Regions from separate parts of the Homo sapiens genome. Here region 2 is linked to region 1. Evidence: promoter capture Hi-C in human tissues and cell types (Jung and others, 2019). All regions are on one chromosome and are shown on one strand. Each heading gives the region's core, a stretch centred on a gene start or on the middle of the fragment in contact. The rest is flanking DNA. Distances are from core to core; before and after follow the strand shown.

Region 1 (5,846 bases), core at 793-3,292:
TTTTAAAAATAACGCAATATACCAAAAACCATTAAATTGCACACTTTTAAACATTTTACTGAATTTATGTTACCCAGACCGGCCTCAACTCCTGGGTTCAAGAGATCCTCCCACCTCCGCCTCCCAAAGCGCTGGGATTACAGCTGTGAGCCATCGCTCCCGGCCAACCGCACACTTTTAGTAGGTGAATTGTATGGTCTGCGAGCATTTGAATAAAGCTTTTTCTTTTAACTATTGTTTAAAAATGTTTAAAATGGCATTTTTTTACAATAAAATAAACGTATGTTTAAAAGGCAGGTACACATATAACTGTGACCAAAAAAAATTAGAAAAAAAAAAAAAAAAAAAAAAAAAAAGACCTGTCCACGAGAGAACGGAGACACCATATCCTAAGCCCAGACAGGAACCACCGCCCGGCTTATTGCTCACATTAGTGGAGGAAAGAGTCAAGGGTTCAGTTTGGGGCTCCTGAGTCTACCGGGTGCAGGGTTGAGTGATAAAAAAGCGACTTTAGCCTCGTCGCATGATTAGGAGAATCAAGAATTAAATGAATGGAGATGTATAGATAAGTAAATCAGAGGCCGGGCGCGGTGGCTCAAGCCTGTAATCCCAGCATTTTGGCAGGCCGAGGCGGGCGGATCCCTTGAGGTCAGGAGTTTGAGATCAGCCTGGCCAACATGGTGAAATCCCGTCTCTACTAAAAAACAGAAAAATTCCCCGGGCGTGATGGTGCACGCGTGTAACCCCAGCTACTCGGGAGGCTGAGGCAGGAGAATCGCTTGAAACCGGGAGGCGGAGGTTGCAGGGAGCCGAGATCGCGCCACTGCACTCCAGCCTGGAGGACGGAGCGAGATCCTGTCTCAAAAAAAAAAAAAAGAAGGCTCCAGACGGGCAATTCTTTAATTTTTAACACAACAAACACCCATCGAACACAGCGCGGGCATTTTGACAATGGACAAAATCTTGCCCTTGACTTTATAATCCATCGACATTTGGGGACCCATAAACCCCCTAACCTCTGAGAACTATTTAGACAAATACTAGTCGGGTTTTTTGGTTTGTTTTTACTTTTTAAATGGAAAAGTGATGATTCACCTTTTCAAAGACTTGCGGCTTTTGGCCAACAAACACGCCATGGTTTACTCACCCACTTCCTCTGATTCTTGGCCAGACGCTCTAAGCTTGCACTCCCTGGGATAGTGTTTTTGAATTATCGTCCACAGTTCCACGTTGACGAGAGAATTTCTTCGGGTATGGTACCGAGTCCACGACGATACCCGGCGGCGACAGAAGGGACAGCATAAACTCGCCTTTTCGACGGTCGACTGGAAGCACGGTTTACACAGCGTGTGGTTACACGGGAGGGTGACGGGCTCCACGAGGATTTCCATGCAGATCCCGCACTGGCACTCGGACAGCGAGGGGATGGCGTCTTTGGGTAGAGCCATTTCAATATGTTAGTAAAGCCGACTAAACAACGACACCTGCACGAAAAAGAATCCTATTTTCGGCCAACCACAGAGAGAGCAAAAGCAGTTTTGTGTTTCAGTATTATGCCCAGAAGCGTATCAGAATTCGGAGAACAGGAGCATCCAACACGTCTTGAAGCAAAAAGGCGCTCTCAGGGTCAGGCAAACAGGAATACCCCGGAGGGCGGCGTCTTTGTCCATTTTCAAGGCAAACGTCCCGCCAGCAAATAAATGCAGGTTTTCGTCGGAGGAGCCTGGCTGCTCCGCGGCATGAACACCGCGGCTGCGGCTCCCGGGGCAGCGAGGGGAACGCGCCAAGTCCTCTCCTCCCCTCACCCGGAAAGGATGCTCCGCTCAGCTCGGGGCAGCCGGGCCCCGGGACGCGGCTCCGGGAGGAAGCCCGGGCTCCGGCTGCAGCATAACTTCCGCTTTACCGCTGCTGCGGGGGAGACGCGCGACTCCCGTGTTCACCTTTCGGGCGCCTGGCGCAGTTTCCCAGAGCTCCGCGCCCCCGTCCCTCCTACGCAGCCAGAAACCCTATTCGTTGCGGCAGCGCAGCAGCCACCGGACAAGCGCTAGCAACGTCACAACCGCCCGCCAAAATCGCACTTCCCACCCAGAAAACTGCCCAAGGGCGAACGTTCCCGGGGCGGGACTTCCGGGGTCTGCGCGCCGCCCGCCCTCCCTCCCAGCCGGAGACGGTCCCGCCCTGGCGTCGCAGCCCCGCCTAGTGCAGCCTGGGTGGAGCCTGACCTTTCCCTGAGATTTCTGCGAGGCCTCAGACACCCCTGGTTTCTTGGTTTCTGGGTAGAAAAAGGGAAACCTCAAAACAAAATCAACAGCCAAACAAGGCCGGGTGCGGTGGCTCACGCCTGTAATCCCAGCACTTCGGGAGGCCGAGGCGGGCGGATCACCTGAGGTCAGGAGTTCAAGACCAGCCTGGCCAACATGGTGAAACCCCCGTCCTTACTAAAAATACAAAAATTAGCTGGGCATTGTGACAAGCTCCTGCAATTCCAGCTACTCAGGAGGCTGAGACAGGAGAATCGCTAAACCTGGGAGGCAGAGGCTGCAGTGAGCCGAGATTGTGCCACTGCACTCCAGCCTGGGGGACAGAGCAAAATTCCACCTCAAAAAATACAAATAAATAAATAGATAAAAGAATTGGGGTCTCACTGTTTTATCCAGGCTGGACTACAACTCCAGGGTTCCAGGGATTCTTTCGCCTCAGCCTCTGGAGTAGCTGGGTCTAGAGCTTGCAACTCCATAGCCAGCTCCGGACCTGCATTTTTTGAGGGAATCAATCAGTGTGAAGGAAGAGAAAAGAAAATCACTGTGCGTGAAAGCAGCCTTTAAGTTGTTTTGAGGCTGCTGAGAGCATTCAGGCTGGGTAGGGGATGGTTTCCAGGTTGAGAACAACGAGGAGACATCGGTCGTTGGTAGAAGTCTTTGGGAACTTTCATTTCAATGTGGGTTCAGAAACCTGTTATTGTCTGTGATAGCTCACACCTGTAGTCCCAGCACTTTGGAAGGCCAAGGCGGGAAGATCAGTGGAGCCCAGGAGTTCAGGTCCAGCCTGGGCAACATAGTGAGACCCTGTCTCTACAAAAAATAAAAAAATTAACTCGGTGTGCTGGCTCACACTTATACTCTCAGCTACTCTGGTGGCTGAGGTGGGAGGATCACTTGAGCCCAGGAGGTCAAGGCTGCAGTGAACAGTGATCGTACCACTGCACCCCAGCCTGGGTGACAGGGCAAGACCCTGTCTCAAAAAAAAGAAAAAAAAAAGAAACCTGGGACTGTCATCTGGTTGTCTACAGTAACAGTACCTTAGCTTGGAATTTCAGGCTTGTTTTTTGTTCGTTTGTTTGTTTTTTTGAGATGGCTCCTCATTCTGTTGCCCAGGTTGGAGTGCAGTGGTTTGATCTCAGCTTACTGCAACCTCCACCTCCTGGGTTCAAGCGATTCTCATGCCTCAGCCTCCCGAGTAGCTGCAATTACAGGCGCGTGCCTTGTAATACCACGTGCATTGTAATACCACGCCTGGCAAATTTTTGTATTCTTAGTAGAGATGGGGTTTCACCATGTTGGCCATGCTGGTCTCGAACTCCTGACCTCAGGTGATCCACCGGCCTTGGCCTTCCAAAGTGCTGGGATTACAGGCGTGAGCCACTGCACCTGGCCTTCAGGCTTCCTAATATGTCCACAACCTGCTTTTCCCATCGAATCTCCCATTATTCTTTTAAACATGCAACTATGATTTATTCTCTGTCATCCAAACGTTTTGCTTTCATGACATTGCTTTCTCGGTTCATCCTAAATGGGTTGCTTTGTGGCTGTGCCTACTTCAAACACCAATTTAATGCAGTTGGGCCAGGCACGGTGGCTCATGCCTGTAATCCCAGCACTTTGGGAGGCCAAGGAGGGCGGATCACAAGGTCAGGAGTTCGAGACCAGCCTGACCAACATGTTGAAACTCAGTCTCTACTAAAAATACAAAAATTAGCTGGGCATGGTGGCAGGTGCCTGTAATCCCAGCTAGTCGGGAGGCTGAGGCAGAAGAATTGCTTGAACCCGGGAGGCAGAGGTTGCAGTGAGGCCAGATTGCACCACTGCACTCCAGCCTGGGTTGACAGAGCAAGACTCCGTCTCGAAAAAAAAAAAAATTAATTCACTTCTTCCAGAGTGCACTTTTATGTGCAATTTAATGCACTCCCCACCACCAGTAATGCCCCTTTTCTAAACTCACCCAGTCATATATTGCCCAGTGATACTGATTTTTATTGCAGTTTTACTATTGAACTCCTGTATTTTGATTTCTATCTTCAGGTGCTTATGTCTTGTGTAATGGATATATTTCATGTACTTCCTCAGATTTCCTTCACTTTGTTTGCTTTCTGTACCCATAATCACTTGCTCTTTTTGGGGCTCACCAGTTGCATTTCCGGAATCTCTGGCTTCTCCTGCCACTTCTGAACAATGCAGGAGCTGACTTCTCAGAGGCTGCTAGGGCCTCGGTAATGCATGCTGGGAGGGTGGGGGGGTCACTCCCCATGGAGTAACTTTCACCAATTGAAACCAGTGGACTGACCGAGCACAATACTTAAATTCCCTTTTCTTCTTCCTTCCAAGGATGGTTTCTCCAGTGTGTCTGGAGACAGGCAAGACTGAGGGAGTGTGCCTGCTGAAAAAGCTGCTGTGTCTCTTGTGGCTCATTTTCAAGGAGGGGACAGCAAGGTAACACATCACCATGTATTACTTCACATCCTTCTCTACCTAACTTCCTTCCAGCTTTCTTCACTCTGGCTGTCCTGAATTTGTACCTCCCAAATAAAGCATCGGCACTTAATCTTTACCTCGAGGGCAGGATCCACATTTTTAATGTTTCTGTTATCCACAGTACCTAGTACATGGCATTTGGTATTCGATAAATATTATAAATAAATGGTCAAGATGTAAGAATCTCCTTTCTGGTATAAATAACTATGGTACTTCATTAGAGAACAAATACACATTAAGATACAATTTATAGGATCTCATGATGTATATTTTAGGTGTTTTTGTTTTAATTTATGAAAATAGAGATGAGGTCTCACTATTGTTACAGCTCTTACTCCCGAATTTGATGAGTTCTGAGTTGTTGTCCCATGACTGAGAAGAATGAGGTACACGGACACTGGAGAGTGAGTAAGGCAAAGTAGAATTTATTGAGTGACAGAACGGCTCTTGGCAGTGAGAGGGGACCCGAAGGTGGGTTGCTGGCCACGAGCCTGAGTCTATGGGTTTTTGTGGGCTAGAAATGGGCAAGTGCATGCTGATTGGTCTGTGGCTATGCTTGACAAAGCACCATTCAGAAATAGGCACGATAGTGTAGAGGACCAATCGCGGAAGGGTAGGTATGTATAAAATAGGTGAAGGGTAAGGACCAATCAGGAGAGAGGGTGCCAGACGAGAATGGGAGCTCTCAGTCTGGCTCATGGATTTATCCAGAACTCATAGCTTGGTTTTCAGGCTTTAGACTGTCCTTGGCTTGAAGGTTGAGTTTCACCAGGGACCCCTCCCTGTCTGCCTAGGAATTTACCTGCCTCCTATTGCTATCACTGTGTTGCCCAGGCTGGTCTGAAACCCCTGAGCTCAAGTGATCCTCCTACCTTGGCCTCCTAAGGTGCTTGGATTATAGGCATGAGCCACCATGTCCGGCCTTGTTTATTTTTTAAATAGGTAATACATTCACATGGTTCAAAATTGAAAATGTAAAAAATGGATTAACAGTGAAAAGACTTCCTCTTGTCTTTGACCCCTAGCCTCTTAGCTTTCTTTCCTGACAACTAATGTTATCACTGTCTTGTGTATCTCTGCAGAAGAAGTTTATGGATA
Region 2 (5,403 bases), core at 1,465-3,964, 600 kb after region 1:
GTTTCCCTTCATGTTTTGTTTGCTAATTCCTTAAAAGTTCTGCAATGCTTTTTAAATAAGATGTGTATTACATTTCATGTAGCATTATTAGTTTTTAGCAATTTTGCTGATCTGATTAATAGAAGTCCTAGTGATTTAAGATAGTCTACATTTTAGAAATTTAAAAGCTTTCTGTGTAAAAAGAACACATTACTTTTTAGTGATGCAGAAAAATATTCTTTCTTAATGAGTAACTAAGTTACTACAAAGCAGTTAACATAGTCTCAGATATTAAAAATTTAAGATACTGAAGAGCTAAGTCAATTCCTGATAATTTCTTAAATTTGTGATCTATTTCTTTCACTGTATTCAGATCTTCATATTTATAGTCTTTGCTTAGAGTCTTCCCACCCGCCCCCACCTCGCTCTGTTGCTCAGGCCGGAGTGCAGTGGTGCAATTCCGGCTCATCGCAGCTTCTGCCTCCTGGGTTCAAGTGATTCTTGTGCCTCAGCCTCCTCAGTAGCTGAAATTACAGGTATGTACCACCATGCCTGTTTAATTTTTATGTTAGTAGAGACAGAGTTTCATCAAGTTGGCCAGGCTGGTCTTGAACTCCTGCTTTCAAGGGATTTGCCTGCTTTGGCCTCCCAAAGTGCTGGGATTACAGGCGTGAGCCATTGCGCCTGGCCAAGTCTTTGCCTTACTCTTAACAATTCCTCACAGCTACCTTTCTATATGTTCAAAACATACTTCGGCATTTTAAAGTTACTTTTCCTTTAAACCTTCTATTTCATTTACCTACTTAAGATTCCTACCTTTTCCTTTTGTTTCAATCAATTGATACTTTTAGTCCTATCAGTCTCCACATTTTACCTATCCTGTGTATATTTTCGTAAATACTCCCACCAACATATTTTTGTTTTGTTTTTAAGGTTTTTTTGGAGACAGGCTCTTGCTCTGTCATCCAGGCTGGAGTGCAGTGGCACGATCATGGCTCATAGTAGCTCTGACCTCCTGGGCTCAAGCAATCTTCCTACCTTAGCCTCTCAAGTAGCTGAGCCTACAGGCATGCATCACTATGCCCAGCTCATTTTTAAAATTACTTGCAGCGACAGGGTGTCCTATGTTACCCAGGGGATCTTCAACTCTTAGGCTCAAGTGATCCTCTTGTCTCAGCCTCCCGAAGTGCTAACCACTACACCTATTTTCTTAAATTTTTATTTTGACGGAAGAGTTTCATCCCTTTTTTCAGTTAAGTCATTTACACTCCTCTCCTAGAATTACATCAAAACTCAGCAAAGCTATAATTTTACATAAGAGATTTTCTCCATTCAACATCTCAAAAATTCCTGTATCAAACCATATTTCTTGTCATGAAACGTATTAGGACGTATCTGAACTGCTGGCTACAAGTTAGTATGTATACGCTTATACAAGGAGAGATATTTAAAAGCTGATTTTTTCATTTGATATCCCCTTTCAAATTTTAACCTTTGTTTTCACCGCCACACTAGAAGTAAAAAGTGAGGAAGGGGTATGGGGGAAATTGGACTTCCTCAATCTCTTCTTAACATGCAATCCCTATAAAGAAAAACATTCATTTATAACTGTAATAAAATACATTAAACACAGATATTAAACCCAAGAGAAACAATTCTCAGAGGATGGATACTATTAATTGGCCTAAAGAAAAAGGGAAACTATTTTTAAGAAGGCCAGTTAGTTGTTTTAAGTACAATAGCTCTCTGGCATACTCGGAGGATTAGTTCCAGAACCCCACGTATACCAAAACCCGTGCATGTTCAAGTCTAACAGGAGGCCTTGTGGAATCTGACAGGCATATGGCATTTTCTATCCCAGTTTGGTTGAACAGCACGTGCGTAAGTGGACACTCGCAGTTCAAACCTGTGTTGTTCAAGGGTCAACTGCAGCACAGGCGCGTAGAAAAATACAGCAAGGGAAGTGGGAAAGCAGGAGACTGAAAAAAATTTTAATTACCTATCTACTACTGAAAATGATAAGAAATGACAAATGTCTGCAAATAAATGCCACTAGTCCACTGCAATCTTCCCAGATTATCTCCACCTCTTCTCCCTTTGGTTGGTATAAGAAGTAATAATGAAAATAAAGTCAGGACACTGGGTGTTAGAAATCTACCTTTGTAACTCAAGATTTCAATCAAAGCTTTGAAGCGCAGAAAAGTTAAGTGACTATGGCCTAACCTCTCTAGACTCTGGTCACTTGCAAAATAGGGATTATGCCACCAAACAGTTTTTTTCTTGCGAAAATAAAATATGTCACAAATATAAGACCTAACCAATGGGAAAGAGAAAATAAATTTAACTTATATATTGAGTTTCTTTCCAATTTATTTCTTTTATGGTATTATTACAATATAATTAATGCTTTCTGAACAAAAGATTGAGATATAAGCTCTGAAAGTTGGCCTAATACTCTTGAGGAACAATAAGATTAAATATTTGAGGTGAGAGATTCCAAGAGTTTAATGAGTAGTTGAAAGAGTAAGAACAGGGTATGGAGACCCACCCAGAACCCCAGAGTTGCCACAAAGATTTTAAGCTGAAGATATCTGAGATTCAACAGATGCAGGAAAAAAGCCTTCTCGGAGTTTCTCTAATCTGACTAAAAGGTGCAGCTTCCGAGAAATGAAGTTACCATAAATACCCTCTGAGGAGTCTGATGGCCCCGAAGAATGGAAAGACCAGTCATACCAGTTTAGACAAATGTCATCACAAACTTTATCCCCCATCTCTTCTCCTAAAAACTTGTCTTTCCTGAAGAAATGTACGTTTTTCTAATAAAAGCTGTTTCTCCCTCCTTCCTTTCCCTACTAGATTAGGTGTACAAGCTTTTAACTTCATCCACAAGCTAGCTTCAGTATTTCTTCTGTTGCCTCTTGCATCCATATACAAGAAACTTTTTTTCCATGTTAATCTGTTTTTTTTGTCAGTTTACTTCACAGGCCCGTTACTGAACATACAAGGGTGGAGGAAAAGGTTTTTCTTCGCTTAAAAGGGGCTAGAAGAAATCTTAACCGTTTAACAGTTGTGTAACTAGCAAATTACTTGGTCTCTTTATGGAAGAGCTTATTCAACTACAACGTAAAACGGGGATAACGGTGCTTACTTACAGGATTATCTTGGGAGTTAAAAGAGTGAATAAACATAACATGGTTCGTATCATGCATGGCGTACAGTTTTACTATTATATACTATCACAGGAGATTCTTTTTTTTTTTTTGAGACAGAGTCTCGCTCTGTCGCCCAGGCTGGAGTGCAGTGGCGTGATCTCGGCTCACTGCAAGCTCGGCCTCCCGGGTTCACGCCATTCTCCTGCCTCAGCCTCGCGAGCAGCTGGGACTACAGGTGCCCGCCACCACGCCTGGCTAATTTTGGTTTTGTATTTTTAGTAGAGACGGGGTTTCACCGTGTTAGCCAGAATGGTCTCTATCTCCTGACCTCGTGATCTGCCCGCCTAGGCCTCCCAAAATGCTGGGATTACAGGCGTGAGCCACCGCGCCTGGCCAAGAGATTCTTAAACTATAGGAAGTATGTGATAAAACTTTATAACTTTGGGATATGGAGTCCAAAACGAGTATAGTATTATATTTCCAGTTCCCATGTTCGATTATTTTTATTTTTATTTTGAGACGGGGTCTCACTCTGTCGCCCAGGCTCAAGTGCAGTGGTGAGATCATAGCAATCCTGCCTTGGCTGGGACTACGGGTGCGCACTACCACGCATGGCTAATTAAAAAACTTTAAAAAAAGTTTTAGCAGAGACAAGATCTTGCTATGTTGCCCAGGCTGGTCTCGAACTCCTGGGCTCAAGTAATCCTCCCACCTAGGCCTTCCAAAGTGCTGGGATTAGAGGCCTGAGCCACCACGTCCAGCTAATTTCTGATAATGATTCTCCAAAAAGATTAACAGTAAAGGCCCCCCAAAGTGAATTATTCCTTGCCTTTGGAATTAATAAAACTGAAAGGAGTTAGAAGATAATGTTCCTTCATATGTCTTGTAGAGATTATTTTTTCTCATAATCAGAATCCAAGTCAAGAAAGTTCAAAGTACACAAGCTGAAAAACCCATAAAAGTACTTTTTTGGAAGACTAATAAGGCAAACCATAGATCCTGAAAGATAAAAAACTTAATTCTACCAAAAGCTTACCTTTGTCTCTATCTGTCTGTCTTGTATGTATATATATAAGATTATCAACAAGGCAGAGAATCCCAAGCCTTTAGGAAAGATACTAACTGCAAGATGCTGATTATCAGAGTGTCGGATGACTCCTTTTGTACTTCTTAAAATCCGATTTGTGTTAATGTTTTTGTGTTGTGTGTGCGTGTAGCTAACCTGTTACTAAGCTTTGATGCTTTTCCCCACCTCTTATTATCTTTGTATGAATGTGAGGCTACTTTTAAATTACTTATTACTGGGGCTGGGGGCTGTGGCTCACGCCTGTAATCCCAGCACTTTGGGAGGCCGAGGCAGGCAGATCACCTGAGGTCAGGAGACCAGTCTGGCCAACATGGTGAAACCCCGTCGCTATTAAAAATACAAAAATAAGCCGGGCGTGGTGGCAGGTGCCTGTAATCCCACCTACTTGGGAGGCTTGAACCTGGGAGGCGGAGGTTACAGTGAGCCGAGATTGTGCCACTGCACTCCAGCCTGGGCAAGAGAGTGAAACTCCATCTTAAAACAAACAAAAAAAATTACTTATTACTTTGCTAGATTTTGCTAGAGTAGCTATTCCAGAAAGTCGAGGGGTGCAGGAAAGATAGAGGCACAGGACATTTTTACAGGTTTTAAAACCCAAATACTGTCACATTATCTGATCCTACAGAGGCAGGCTGCTTTATCCAAATACGGGTCCTCTGCTTTTCTAAACCAAACCACATTATGAGTGAAATTTTATACCATATCCTAAATTTGTGCCATCACAAACATTCTCAACATTCCATATTTTAACTCTTCCCCTCTTTCCGTGTGGCTTCTGCAAGACCTCAGCTGCTTAAGGAGTCTTTACCTCTACTTGGTTGTCCAGGTATCATACCTGCCTTCTTAGTTTTAGTTAATATTAAGTGAAGTTGTGTGGGTAGGAGCATGCGTGTATGTTTTGTTTTTCTTACTGCTTTTGTGTGTTCTGTGTGTTTTGAGGTTAGGGAGCAGATATTAAGTTACCCGTAACCATACCTAAAAAGTTTATATTCCTTATAAACATATAAATGAGAGGCTGTCTATAATACTAAGGAACCAGTGACTGTAACTCGGCTTCCATATAGTGTACCTACGGGGTGGAATATGTTGGCCAGAAGATAAAAGTACAACATAGGGTCCCATTGGCAGATTTGTTTCTCACAAAAATTAACGAATTGACATTCTGACTTCATACGTTAGTCTCTA

What was found. Contacts are between HindIII fragments. The study calls those that stand out against the background at their distance.
Region 2: a fragment that was not itself captured here is called in contact with the fragment with the promoter of RNF168 in region 1 in 2 of the 25 tissues and cell types used here (dorsolateral prefrontal cortex and psoas muscle).

The regions. Positions count from the first base shown.
Region 1 is chr3:196,501,726-196,507,571 of GRCh38, forward strand. It overlaps RNF168 (ring finger protein 168), which reads right to left and starts at 2,043. Exons shown (of 6, transcript NM_152617.4): 1 at 1,148-2,043. The coding sequence starts at 1,448. It overlaps SMCO1 (single-pass membrane protein with coiled-coil domains 1), which reads right to left. Exons shown (of 3, transcript NM_001077657.3): 3 at 5,154-5,846. It overlaps LOC105374306 (a long non-coding RNA gene), which reads right to left and starts at 327. Exons shown (of 2, transcript XR_924896.3): 1 at 1-327. LOC105374307 (a long non-coding RNA gene) reads left to right here and starts at 3,627. Exons shown (of 3, transcript XR_924897.3): 1 at 3,627-4,486; 2 at 4,602-4,706; 3 at 5,077-5,167. RefSeq lists enhancers at 153-837, 838-1,521, 1,173-1,242, 1,283-1,372 and a silencer at 1,993-2,292. The HindIII fragment of the contact is 9,103 bases long and covers 700-5,846 here.
Region 2 is chr3:197,098,163-197,103,565 of GRCh38, forward strand. The region is part of intron 14 of DLG1 (discs large MAGUK scaffold protein 1); the gene reads right to left. Among named protein-coding and RNA genes, the nearest start is that of MELTF, 71 kb to the left of the region's middle. The HindIII fragment of the contact is 3,098 bases long and covers 1,166-4,263 here.